Linked DNA regions of Homo sapiens: regions 1 and 3 are each linked to region 2. Evidence: promoter capture Hi-C in human tissues and cell types (Jung and others, 2019). All regions are on one chromosome and are shown on one strand. The core of a region is centred on a gene start or on the middle of the fragment in contact, and the rest is flanking DNA. Distances in the headings are between cores, read along the strand shown.

Region 1 (3,591 bases), core at 81-2,580, 1.0 Mb after region 2:
TTTTAATTCCTACTATGATAAATGTCAGTAGATTAACCTACATAACCAGAAGCTCTTTGGGGGTAACAGCTTTATTGAGATATAACTAATATACCATGCAATTCACCCATTTCAAGAGCATCTGATTTATTTTGGCATTTATAATGTTCCATCCTTACAGTTCTTTATCTCCATAACTTATCACTCCCACTAGAACTAAAATTTTCGAGGCAAAGACCAGATCTCAAACATCTGTGTGTTTTCCTTAGTTCCTGGAGTAGTCCTACAAACATCCCAGGCACAACAATGCCTTTCACTGAACCACATCCTCTGATTTTTTTTCTGCCAGTCCTAAATTGTATACATTCTTTAGACAGGACTGGATTCAACAATTAGCCTTTTAAATAAAGGTTCCATGTCCATGTGTCAGTTTTTGGGGTGATGTGGCAGGGACACAAGTCCCACTTCACTATCGTTTTGGGATGAGGACTGTCTCAATAAGAGAGCATGGGTGGCAGCTTTTATGAAAGGACATAGCAAAGGACAAGGACAGGGCTTATCCCTGGAGCCTGCTCTAGGAAAGGAAAGGAGGCCCTAGGGAATGAGCTGGGTCTAGGAAGTGGCCTGAAGGCTTCCTAGCCATGTGAAAATGTTTGTAAATAGTACCACCGTTAGGCGATAGGATTAAGAGCCATAACGCAGGATGCTTGTAAATGTTTTCAGACACTGAAGACCAAGGAACACTTACTTGCTGAGGAAGAGCTTGAAGAAGGTGAGGCTTGCACTCTAGACCAGACCTGAAAGTGAGGGACTGTTCCAGGCAGGTGGGAGGGGAGGTGGGAGGCATCCCCTGCGTGTGCAGACCACACCTCAGGAGCAGTGGAGTCTGAGGGGCGGGGGAGGGAAGAGAAAGAGAGATGGGTAAGGCTGGAGAGAGAGGGTGAGATGGGCTGATCAGGTTGAGGCAGTTGAGCCTTTACTCCGGCAATCCAATCAGTCAGGGATCCTGATCTCTCGTGGTGGGAGGCAGGGTGGCCACGTTCGAAGACTTCCTTTCAGCCCCAGGGGTGAGGTGATGTGAGAAGGAAGAATGGAAAGGATGCAGATTGGCCTAATAGCTTTTATTTGCCTGAACCATACAGGTCCCTTATTCAACAAATATTTGCTAAGCACCTGCTTTATTCCAGGCAGAGTATAAGCTACTCCTGATTGTATTGTCTGTCTTTCTTTCAATGTGTTTTGTATGAAAATGTGTCCCCAGTTGGACTTGTGCTGAATTGTATCTGGGGACCCTGTCTTTAATCCAGCTTAGCTCTGCACTCTCAAACTGCAAATTAAAGGTGTGTAATAAATGAGTATGGGAAATAAAAATAATAGAAAAACAGAACCCAAACAAAAAAATGAGTATGTGATTGAGTGACAATGACAGGATTCACACCCCCAAACTATTACTACAAAAGGGAGGAGCTTACTTGTTTCTAACAGAGCAAGGAGCAATCTGTGTGTACTGCAGGCTCTGCTTCCCCAGTGATGGGATGGGCTGGCGCCAGGTCCTTCCGGTGTGGTGCAGTGCGGTGGGAGCACACAGTATCACCTGGGTAGTATTCTTGCCAAAAAGATTTAACTCAGATCTAATCATAAAGAAATGATTAGGCCACCAAAATTTGTAGGGACAGCTCATTGGTCTGCATTATTTAAAAACATCAGTGTCACGAAAGAGAAAAGAATTCCTTTAGATGAAAGGAGATTAAAGAAACATGACAACTTCACTGAGCAGCATATGACCCTTAATTAATGAAGTCCTCCCCCAACCCTCCCTGCCACCAAAAAAGAGACAGGTCAGTTCGGGAAGTTGGAATGTGAACTGGATATTAGATAATGACAATACGTCAACTTTAACTTTGTTGGGTATGATAATGGTATTGTGGCTCTGAAGGAGAATGTCCCTGTTCTTAAGTATTTATGGGTGAAATAAGATGTCTCCCACTTATTAATACTTTCAAAAATCACAGCAAGAAAACGTGTATGCATGTAGCTAAAACAAACTGACAAAAATGCTTATGATAGGTGAATCAAGGTAAAGAGAATGGGATGTTCTTGTTCTCATTCAACTTTTTGGGTAGCTTTAAAATTTTTTGAAATTAAAAGTTGGAAAAATTAAAATGATTTACTTGGGCATGTAGCTGTTTCAGCAGTAAGGTTGACTGAAGCTGACTTTAAGTTACTCGCTTTACTTGTCTTCAGGGTTGTCAGGCTCTCGAATGGTGTGCGTGCCCAAGTCCCTAATGCTGCTTCCACTGTGTCAGGACTGAGACATCTTTGAACTTCGTGTCCTATTTTAATCCTTGGAAAATTCACTCTGTGGCTTCTGAAACCAGCATATTTAGCAATAGTAAGGAATACAGTGAGTTAATGAATTTCCGTGGGAAACCTGGATGGCTGGCTGAGATATCTGACTTGGGAATGTGTCTCGTCCCAGCTACCTGCCCACTGCAGCTCCGTGGGGGGCTTGGAACTGATAATGAGATTTCACGATCAGAATCGGGGGGCCTATACACAGCCTTCCTTCAGCACTCTGTATGCCAGTGAGAAATTTGAACTGGTTTCCGGGACCACCATCTTACTCCTCAGGGTCTGGACTGGAACCTACTGCAGAGAGCAAGATCGCCTGTTTGGCGGTAGCACACAATGGTGTTGCTGAGAAATGAGTAGTTTTTGAGTTGGAGCCAGCAGCACGTCACAAGGGACGCTGCCAGGCAGCTCAGCCCAGGTAGATGGCACCAAAAGGGGTGCTCTTGGGGCTGAGGCTGACAAGAGGCACTCAAGTCGGGTTTTGAAAGTGCAGATGAGTATGCATTGGCAGAGAGGGCTTCTGAACACATTCTAGGGAGGGAGAAACGTGCATGGAAGAAAGCCTGTAAGTCCAGAGTGTGTGTGGGGAGGAGGCGGCACCGTGCCGGGTATCGCTCTGAGCCTGTGTGTGGGTTCACACTACCATTTTCACACATGTGGAAACAGTCATAGAAAGTCAGGCAGCTGCTCTGAGATGACGTCGCCGGCTCCTGGTGGAGCAGATTCGGAGCACCCACTCACCCAGGCTCTTGGGTACTGTGTCTCCTGACCCCTTCCATCGGCTAGTGGCTGACTGTATTCGAGGCGGGGGCCTGTCATGAGTAGCGAGAAGGACAGTTAGAGGTTCCCTTTGTTCAGCCATCTTATCCTTCAAATGGGAATTGCACCAACAGATGGAATCCAACAAACAGTGTAATAAATAAATTGCCTGTTCTGGGCTGGGACCTTTATATGAATTCTCATTGATTCGCATAGAAATCCCTCACGGTAGTTGGATAGAGGCTCAAGAGAGATGAAGAGACTGCTAAGATCATACATTTTTCTGACTCCACAGCCCACTTTCTACTATGTTTCTCTGTCACTGGTAGAGTGGCCAGGGATACAGAAATGAATGAGCTGCTCCGTGCCTCCCAGAACAGTACCCGGGACCACGTGCGAGGTATTACAGAGAAGAGCAGCACGTGGTGAATTCTTCCATTAGGCAGCCTGTGGGCAGGGCCATTCTAGAGGCTCGGAGTGTTACGGGAGATCAGAAGAGGG
Region 2 (3,395 bases), core at 539-3,038:
GGAGTCTCACTCTGTTGTCCAGGCTGGAGTGCAGTGGCGCGATCTCAGCTCACTGCAAGCTCCGCCTCCCGGGTTCATGCCATTCTCCTGCCTCAGCCTCCTGAGTAGCTGGGACTACAGGGGCCCGCCACCACACCCGGCTAATCTTTTGTATTTTTAGTAGAGACGGGGTTTTACTGTGTTAGCCAGGATGGTCTCGATCTCCTGACTTCGTGATCTGCCCGCCTCGGCCTCCCAAAGTGCTGGGATTACATGTGTGAGCCACCGCACCCGGCCTATTTGTTTTGTATTTTTTAGCAGAGACAGGTTTCACCATGTTGGCCAGGCTGGTCTCAAACTCATGACCTCAAGTGATCTGCCCGCCTCGGCCTCCCAAAGTGCTGGGATTACAGGCGTGAGCCACCACGCCCAGCCATGTCTTTTTTTTTTTTTTTTTTGAGACAAGAGTTTCGCTCTTGTTGCCCAGGCTGGAGTGCAATGACGCGATTTCGGCTCACCGCAATCTCCGCCTCCTGGGTACAAGCAATTCTCCTGCCTTAGCCTCCCGAGTAGATGGGATGACAGGCATGCACCACCATGCCCAGCTAATTTGGTATTTTTATTTTTTTATATTTATTTATTTTTTCGAGACGGAGTCTCGCTCTGTCGCCCAGGCTGGAGTGTAATGGTGCGATCTGGGCTCACTGCAACCTCTGCCTCCCGGGTTCAAGCGATTCTCCTGTCTCAGCCTCCTGAGTAGCTGGGATTACAGGCGCCCGCCACCACGCCCGGCTAATTTTTGTATTTTTAGTAGAGACGGGGTTTCTCCATGTTGGTCAGGCTGGTCTCGAACTCCCGACCTCAGGTGATCCGCCTGCCTCGGCCTTCCAAAGTGCTGGGATTACAGGAGTAATCCCAAAAAAAGCGCCGGGCCCTTTTTTTGTTGTTTTTTAAATTCAGTAACTATCTAGTTCATTCTTGGATGGATGACAACCCAGATTGGATGTGTAGCAGCGTTCTCTTAACCAGTTTCCTATTAATCTTCATTTCATCCCCAGTGTTTCTCCAGAATGCAAATAATATGGCATTAAATATCTTCACACATAGCTTTTTGTGTATGTGTATACTTATTTCTCTAGAATTAGTGTCTAGAAGTGAAACTGCCGGGAGGAAGGATATATACTTTTAACATGTCCAAGTTCCACTGTGATAGCGCTGCGAGGGCACACAACAGGTTTCAATATACCTTGGACCAAACCGGATATTATCAGTTTTTTTAACTTGTTGCTAATGTGATGGGGGAAAAATGAACTCGGAATTTACACACAAGGAAAAGACCGTTTAAGGTTCAGGGACTGTCCACATAGCTGTCAAGTGGCGGAGCCGTGATTTGGTATTAAAGTGCCCGGAGAGGACGCGTCAAAGTTGGACACTGTGCCCTGTGTCCTGAGGCACGTCTGGTGATCGCTGGGCCTTGCAATGCTGGGCAGGCAGGCCTTCCTCTCCCCTTCTAGGCCTCTGGCCACTCCTGGCTGGCCGAAAGCCGGTTCTTCTCGATTACCGAGTGCCTCTCCTGAAAGCAAGTCAGCGTCGCCTAACCTCTTCAGCTTCGAAATGGCGGCCACCAGATCGCTAGGCCACGCCCCGGGGGCGGGGCCTGAGTTCAGGCCAGAGCGATGGATGCCCGAGCCAAGTTAGAAGTCGACTGCCAGTAGGGCTCGCGCAGAATCGGAGAGCCGGTGGCGTCGCAGGTCGGGAGGACGAGCACCGAGTCGAGGGCTCGCTCGTCTGGGCCGCCCGAGAGTCTTAATCGCGGGCGCTTGGGCCGCCATCTTAGATGGCGGGAGTAAGAGGAAAACGATTGTGAGGCGGGAACGGCTTTCTGCTGCCTTTTTTGGGCCCCGAAAAGGGTCAGCTGGCCGGGCTTTGGGGCGCGTGCCCTGAGGCGCGGAGCGCGTTTGCTACGATGCGGGGGCTGCTCGGGGCTCCGTCCCCTGGGCTGGGGACGCGCCGAATGTGACCGCCTCCCGCTCCCTCACCCGCCGCGGGGAGGAGGAGCGGGCGAGAAGCTGCCGCCGAACGACAGGACGTTGGGGCGGCCTGGCTCCCTCAGGTAGGTGGCAGGACCGGGTCGTGGATGCCGGGGGAGCCGGGCGGCGGGGCTGAGGGATCGGCTTCCAGGGCGACCGGGCCTGGGTGGCGCTGATGGAGCGGCCCCGCGGCTGCCGGGCAGAGGGCTTGGGCCAGGCCGTTGTCACCCTGGGGTAGCGTTGGGCGGGGGCCCCGGAGTCCGGTGTCATGGCCGGCGAGCCGAGTTCCCACATCCCACTCAAATTTCCTTGTGTTTGGCGGAAACGTGCCAACGCCACCCTTATGCCATGCGCATTCCTCATATTTGGCAGTGGGAAAATCCGCCCAGAGCTGCCCCATATCTGTTGTCACTTGGATGGGCCAATTCCTTTTCTCTTGGGCCGCCGAATGTGGGACCCGGGCTTGCACCCTTTCTCAGGGTACTTCAGTCAAGTGACACCCTTTTAGAGACGACGTGAGGAATCGGGTAAGAGAGGAGGAAACTGGCCAGTGCCCTACCACAAAGGCACAGGGGCCTCTTCTTGGGTATCAGGACTAGCCTTGGGTATCAGGACTCTGGGTTATTAATGAAAGGTTTGGGATACTTATAGAGGATTGGCCTCAGGACGCTTTGGAATGAAGAGCCAGGGCTGTCTTTTGTGTGACGCGAGAGCCGCCGGGACGCTTCAGCTCTGCAGCTGCTGAGGCTCTGCGAGCGAGTCGATGCCCAAGAGAGAGGGGTTTGGACGTCGTGAGAGGCGAGGCGGCCGTGTTCATTCATTGTTCTCGTTCTAGGGCTCTGGGTGTGCCCCTGGTATTCATTCTGTGGTGGGAAGAAGGAATGGAACTTAGTGTATCCTTGAGATGTGAACGGGTTCTAGGGGGTCACTTAATCTAAGTGGAAAATGAATTCAAGGCACGTTCATTGAGCGTTTCTGCTTGCCTGGTCCTCTGTGGGCTGAGTGGAGAGACTCTGCCCTCCCTGCGCTCCTAAGGCGTGAAAACAATGCAGTGTGATAAGAATTGGCTTATCAAGTGTTATGGGGATTTAGAACAGTTAGTTTTGCTTGGGGAGGAGTTGAGGAAGCTTCTACACTCGAGGAGACTTCTGAGTCGAGTTTTGAAACACCTGTGAGTAAGTGCTCATCGGGTGAGGAGGAGCTCAGGGAACAGCTGGTACAAAGGCTTAGAGCCATGTGGGAGTTGGGATGAGTTTGGGGAGCAGCAAATTGCCTGGGGTGCAGGAAGGAAATGGTGAGAGATGAGAGTAAAATAAAAGTTGCTAGAATTGTGAGGGGGCTGTCTTTGTTGTAGATAGTGAACTAGTTGAATTTGGATTATTGTAC
Region 3 (3,461 bases), core at 726-3,225, 1.8 Mb before region 2:
CCTGGAGTCCCAGGTCTTGCAGGGTAAGTGACTGGAATAATTACTTGGATCTCTACAAATCTATGATTTTGCCTCTTTGGGGGCTCTTTATCCAGGGAGACACATTCCTCAACCCTCAATTCCACTGTGTGGCTGGGGCAGCTAAGGTCACTGCCCACAGCTCCATCTGGAATGCTACCTTAAGACGCTCCTTTGACTTTTGGGGGTTTTTTGATCTTAAAGAGACGTTCCCTCTTTTGGGATGTGAGTCACTGGGGAAAGCGTTGACAGGGCACTATCTAAAGGCAGATGAGCAAACGCCTTTGTTCTTTATAGCTTAGGGCCCTGGGTTCAGGCTCACACCTGTGATCACAACATACCCCCGCACCAGCCTTTGGCATCAGCAAAGCCATGACAACAGCCAGTGTCTAGGTTTTCAGGGAACAGTTCAGCTCTAATTAGTAACAGGTAACATTTCAGTTATGGGTTAACATTTCCACTATTGCTAATGTATCAGTTATACCTAAAACCTTAAAATTACAAGCTAACATTTTACATTTGTTAATCACTAACATCCTAGTCACTATGTGACATATTAATCAGCAGCAAACACTCCAGTTATGAATAATACTTTGGTTAACAGCTAACACCCTGGCCATGAGTGGATGATTTAATTATCAGCTAACGCTTTCCTGAACAACTAACATTGGAGGTGCCGGCTGAAATGTTAGTTATAACTCAGTTAATCTGATTTAGCAGCTAAAATCTAAGCCAGTGCCTCTCAACCCATAAAGTGCTCTTGGATTATCTGGGGATAATGTTACAACGCAGCCTTGGAGTTTGTAGGTTTGGGGCAGGCCCACGAAGCTCCCTGCAATGCTGATGGGAATGCTTGTGGCCCCCTCTGCAAAGCGAGGGTCCATGCTGTGGCTAATGGCTCTTACCACGGTTGCTGGCTAACCTCCTGTTACCAGCTAACCTATTTATTAGAAGCCCAACATTAGTTATCTGCTACCATCTGCACTGACTGCCAATACCTTGAGATGAGAAAGCTGTGGTGGATGGGGCTAGCTCGTGTAGGCTCCTGAGAGCCTGGCTCTTCAATATTCAGGAATTCTGTGAGCTGGTCATTAAACTGTGGACAGCTTGAAAGCAAACATGGTGGGAGCACTGACACCATGAAATGGACAAACGCTACAACAAACCTGAGTTTTACTTTTTTCCAGAGGGCGGGCTTACCAGCACGCCACCACTGGCCACCTCCCTCTTGGGGCGTGGCTAATTGCAGGCGGGAAGTGGGGGAGAGGGCCAGCCTGGCACAGCTCTCCAGGAGGCAGGGGACGGACAGAAGTCCAACTTACCTTCCCAGTGGACCTGACGCCCTTCCAGATGCAGAAGAAACACACTAGCCAGACTAAAAGAAGGCAGAGAGCGAGGTCCCATTTCAGAGAGCCTGGGTGGTCGATTCCAGGGGACAAGCTCAGCACGTTGCGCCTTGAAGCAAACACAGAGCCAGGAGTCAGTGAGGGGCCTGGCCCTGGAGTAGAGAGAGCCAAGGCTCGGACATTAACAGGCTGGGGGTCAAATCCCACCTGAGGCGCTGCATTTACATAAGTCACCTCACCTTTCCAAACCCAGGAATCCCCATTTGTCTTGAGACAGAGTTGTTGGAAAGAAAAGAAAAGGATAGACTCAGACTCCAGATTCAGGCAAACCCAGGTTCAACTTAGTCTGGCCTCAGGCAAGTTAAGGAACCCCTGAGCCTCAGTTTCCTCATCTGTGAAATGGGCACTGATTTTCTGTTGGGACTTCAGCAGAACCTTCTTCAGTGCCAACCGTGGGCCAAACACTAGGTTCAATTCTCAGCTCTACTGTTTGTTCCGTCACTGACAGAACGAAGTTAGCCAACTTTCCCAGACCTCTGGCTCCTCGTCTATAAAGTGTTGCCCTCCCCCAATATTGTCCCTTATTATTTTATTCATCCCTGTGTAACCTGGATCTCTCACTAAAATGTAAGTCACACAAGGTCCTAAATTCAGGGTCTGGGATGCAGCTAGCACTTGATAAACCTTTGCAGATGTTAACTGTGGTGTTCAGATGCCCAGGGAAGTTTCAGGCACACAGCCGGCACCTAAGCAATGCTGGTTTCCTCCCCTGCCCTGCCAGGGTTTTGAGGGTCTCAGAGAGAGGCAGGTAAACGGTTTTAAGGATAATTGGCACGGGACAGTCACCAACCCTGCCCAGGATGACACGGCAGAGCGTGGGTCTTTGGAGTCCAGACTTAAGCCTCCCACCAATCCGAGCTGATTCCTGCTGCCCTGCTAAACAAGCACACAAGTACCTACTCCCAGACATTCTTATGGATGACAGCATCTGAAAGCAGGCCAGGGCGATGCAGGGTACTGACAGCCCAGGCCATGAAACTTGATGCCCAGAAGTGGCACCCATGGTCCCAGAGCTCTGACTGCTGCAACAGTGATCGAGGACAGCCACGCTGAGAACAGAGACATCGGCCCTGCCCACTGGGCCTCCCAGGTTACCTGTCCACCACAGGCTGCTGGCCACAAGAGACAGGGTCTGCATGCTCCAGGGTGTTTGCGAACCCCTGGAAGAAGCTGAGTTTCCTTCTAATGGGAGTCAGCTCCCTGTCTGAAGGTCACACTCCCATGCAGGAGGGGCAGGGAGTGAAGTGTGACTCTGTGCCTCAGTTTCCCCTTTTGTAAAATGAGAATAACAGCTCCTGCCCAGGATGCTCTTGGGGAAGCATTCTGGAACATCCCAAGCTTTCAGCCAGTCCGTGGGATTACCCCCACAGTCAGGGCTCTGGTTCTCGGAACACACACCAGGCTAGACCCTTTATCATTTTTATTTTATTTTTTTTAGAGAAGCTTCAACATAAGGACTTTGAATAAATCCAAGATTCCCTTCTCAACTGGTATTCAAGCAAGGCCTTTCTTTAGTTTACTGCTGTGTTCCCAGCACCTAGAACAGCATCTGGCCCATTGGAGGACCTCAATAAAGACCTGTTGAGTGAATGAGTGAATGAATGGACTCAACTGGGAGGACAGCAAGTTCACATGTCACTGTAGGACCGATCCGTGAAATACTCCCACTAACAGCCATAAGACAGGACAGCTTTTCTTTGCCCTCTTCTTGCTGGTCACAGCGACATCAGTGGGCTCCCCCTGGCACCAGGGATGTCAACATGATAATGCTGATGGACGAAATAAAAGCTACCAGCAACCACCTGCTTTCCAAGGCCTTTTCAGTTTATCTCATCTGATCCCAGGAGTAGAGGCCATTCACCCCATTTTACAGATAGGGAAAATGAAGGCTTGGTGGGTCCACTTGCCCATGGTCACAGAGCCAGCAGGTGACACAGAGCTGCCACCCCAAGCCCACACCTGTCTGACTCCAAAACCAGTGCTCTCTCTACTCCACTACACTGTTGGTCTGGTTTTAAGAGAAAACAGAGCCTAAAT

The links. Contacts are between HindIII fragments. The study calls those that stand out against the background at their distance.
Region 1: a contact is called between a fragment that was not itself captured here and the fragment with the promoter of RAF1 in region 2, in 1 of the 25 tissues and cell types used here (aorta).
Region 3: a contact is called between a fragment that was not itself captured here and the fragment with the promoter of RAF1 in region 2, in 1 of the 25 tissues and cell types used here (psoas muscle).

What each region holds. Positions count from the first base shown.
Region 1 is chr3:11,613,432-11,617,022 of GRCh38, reverse strand. The region is part of intron 1 of VGLL4 (vestigial like family member 4); the gene reads left to right. Among named protein-coding and RNA genes, the nearest start is that of VGLL4, 29 kb to the left of the region's middle. The HindIII fragment of the contact is 5,661 bases long and covers 1-3,591 here.
Region 2 is chr3:12,662,510-12,665,904 of GRCh38, reverse strand. It overlaps RAF1 (Raf-1 proto-oncogene, serine/threonine kinase), which reads left to right and starts at 1,788. Exons shown (of 17, transcript NM_002880.4): 1 at 1,788-2,092. RefSeq lists enhancers at 1,413-1,482, 1,523-1,872, 1,484-2,095, 2,096-2,706 and a silencer at 2,063-2,282. The HindIII fragment of the contact is 15,309 bases long and covers 1-3,395 here.
Region 3 is chr3:14,455,962-14,459,422 of GRCh38, reverse strand. SLC6A6 (solute carrier family 6 member 6) reads right to left here. Exons shown (of 15, transcript NM_003043.6): 6 at 1,341-1,473. Among named protein-coding and RNA genes, the nearest start is that of SLC6A6, 55 kb to the right of the region's middle. RefSeq lists an enhancer at 1-52. The HindIII fragment of the contact is 4,812 bases long and covers 1-3,461 here.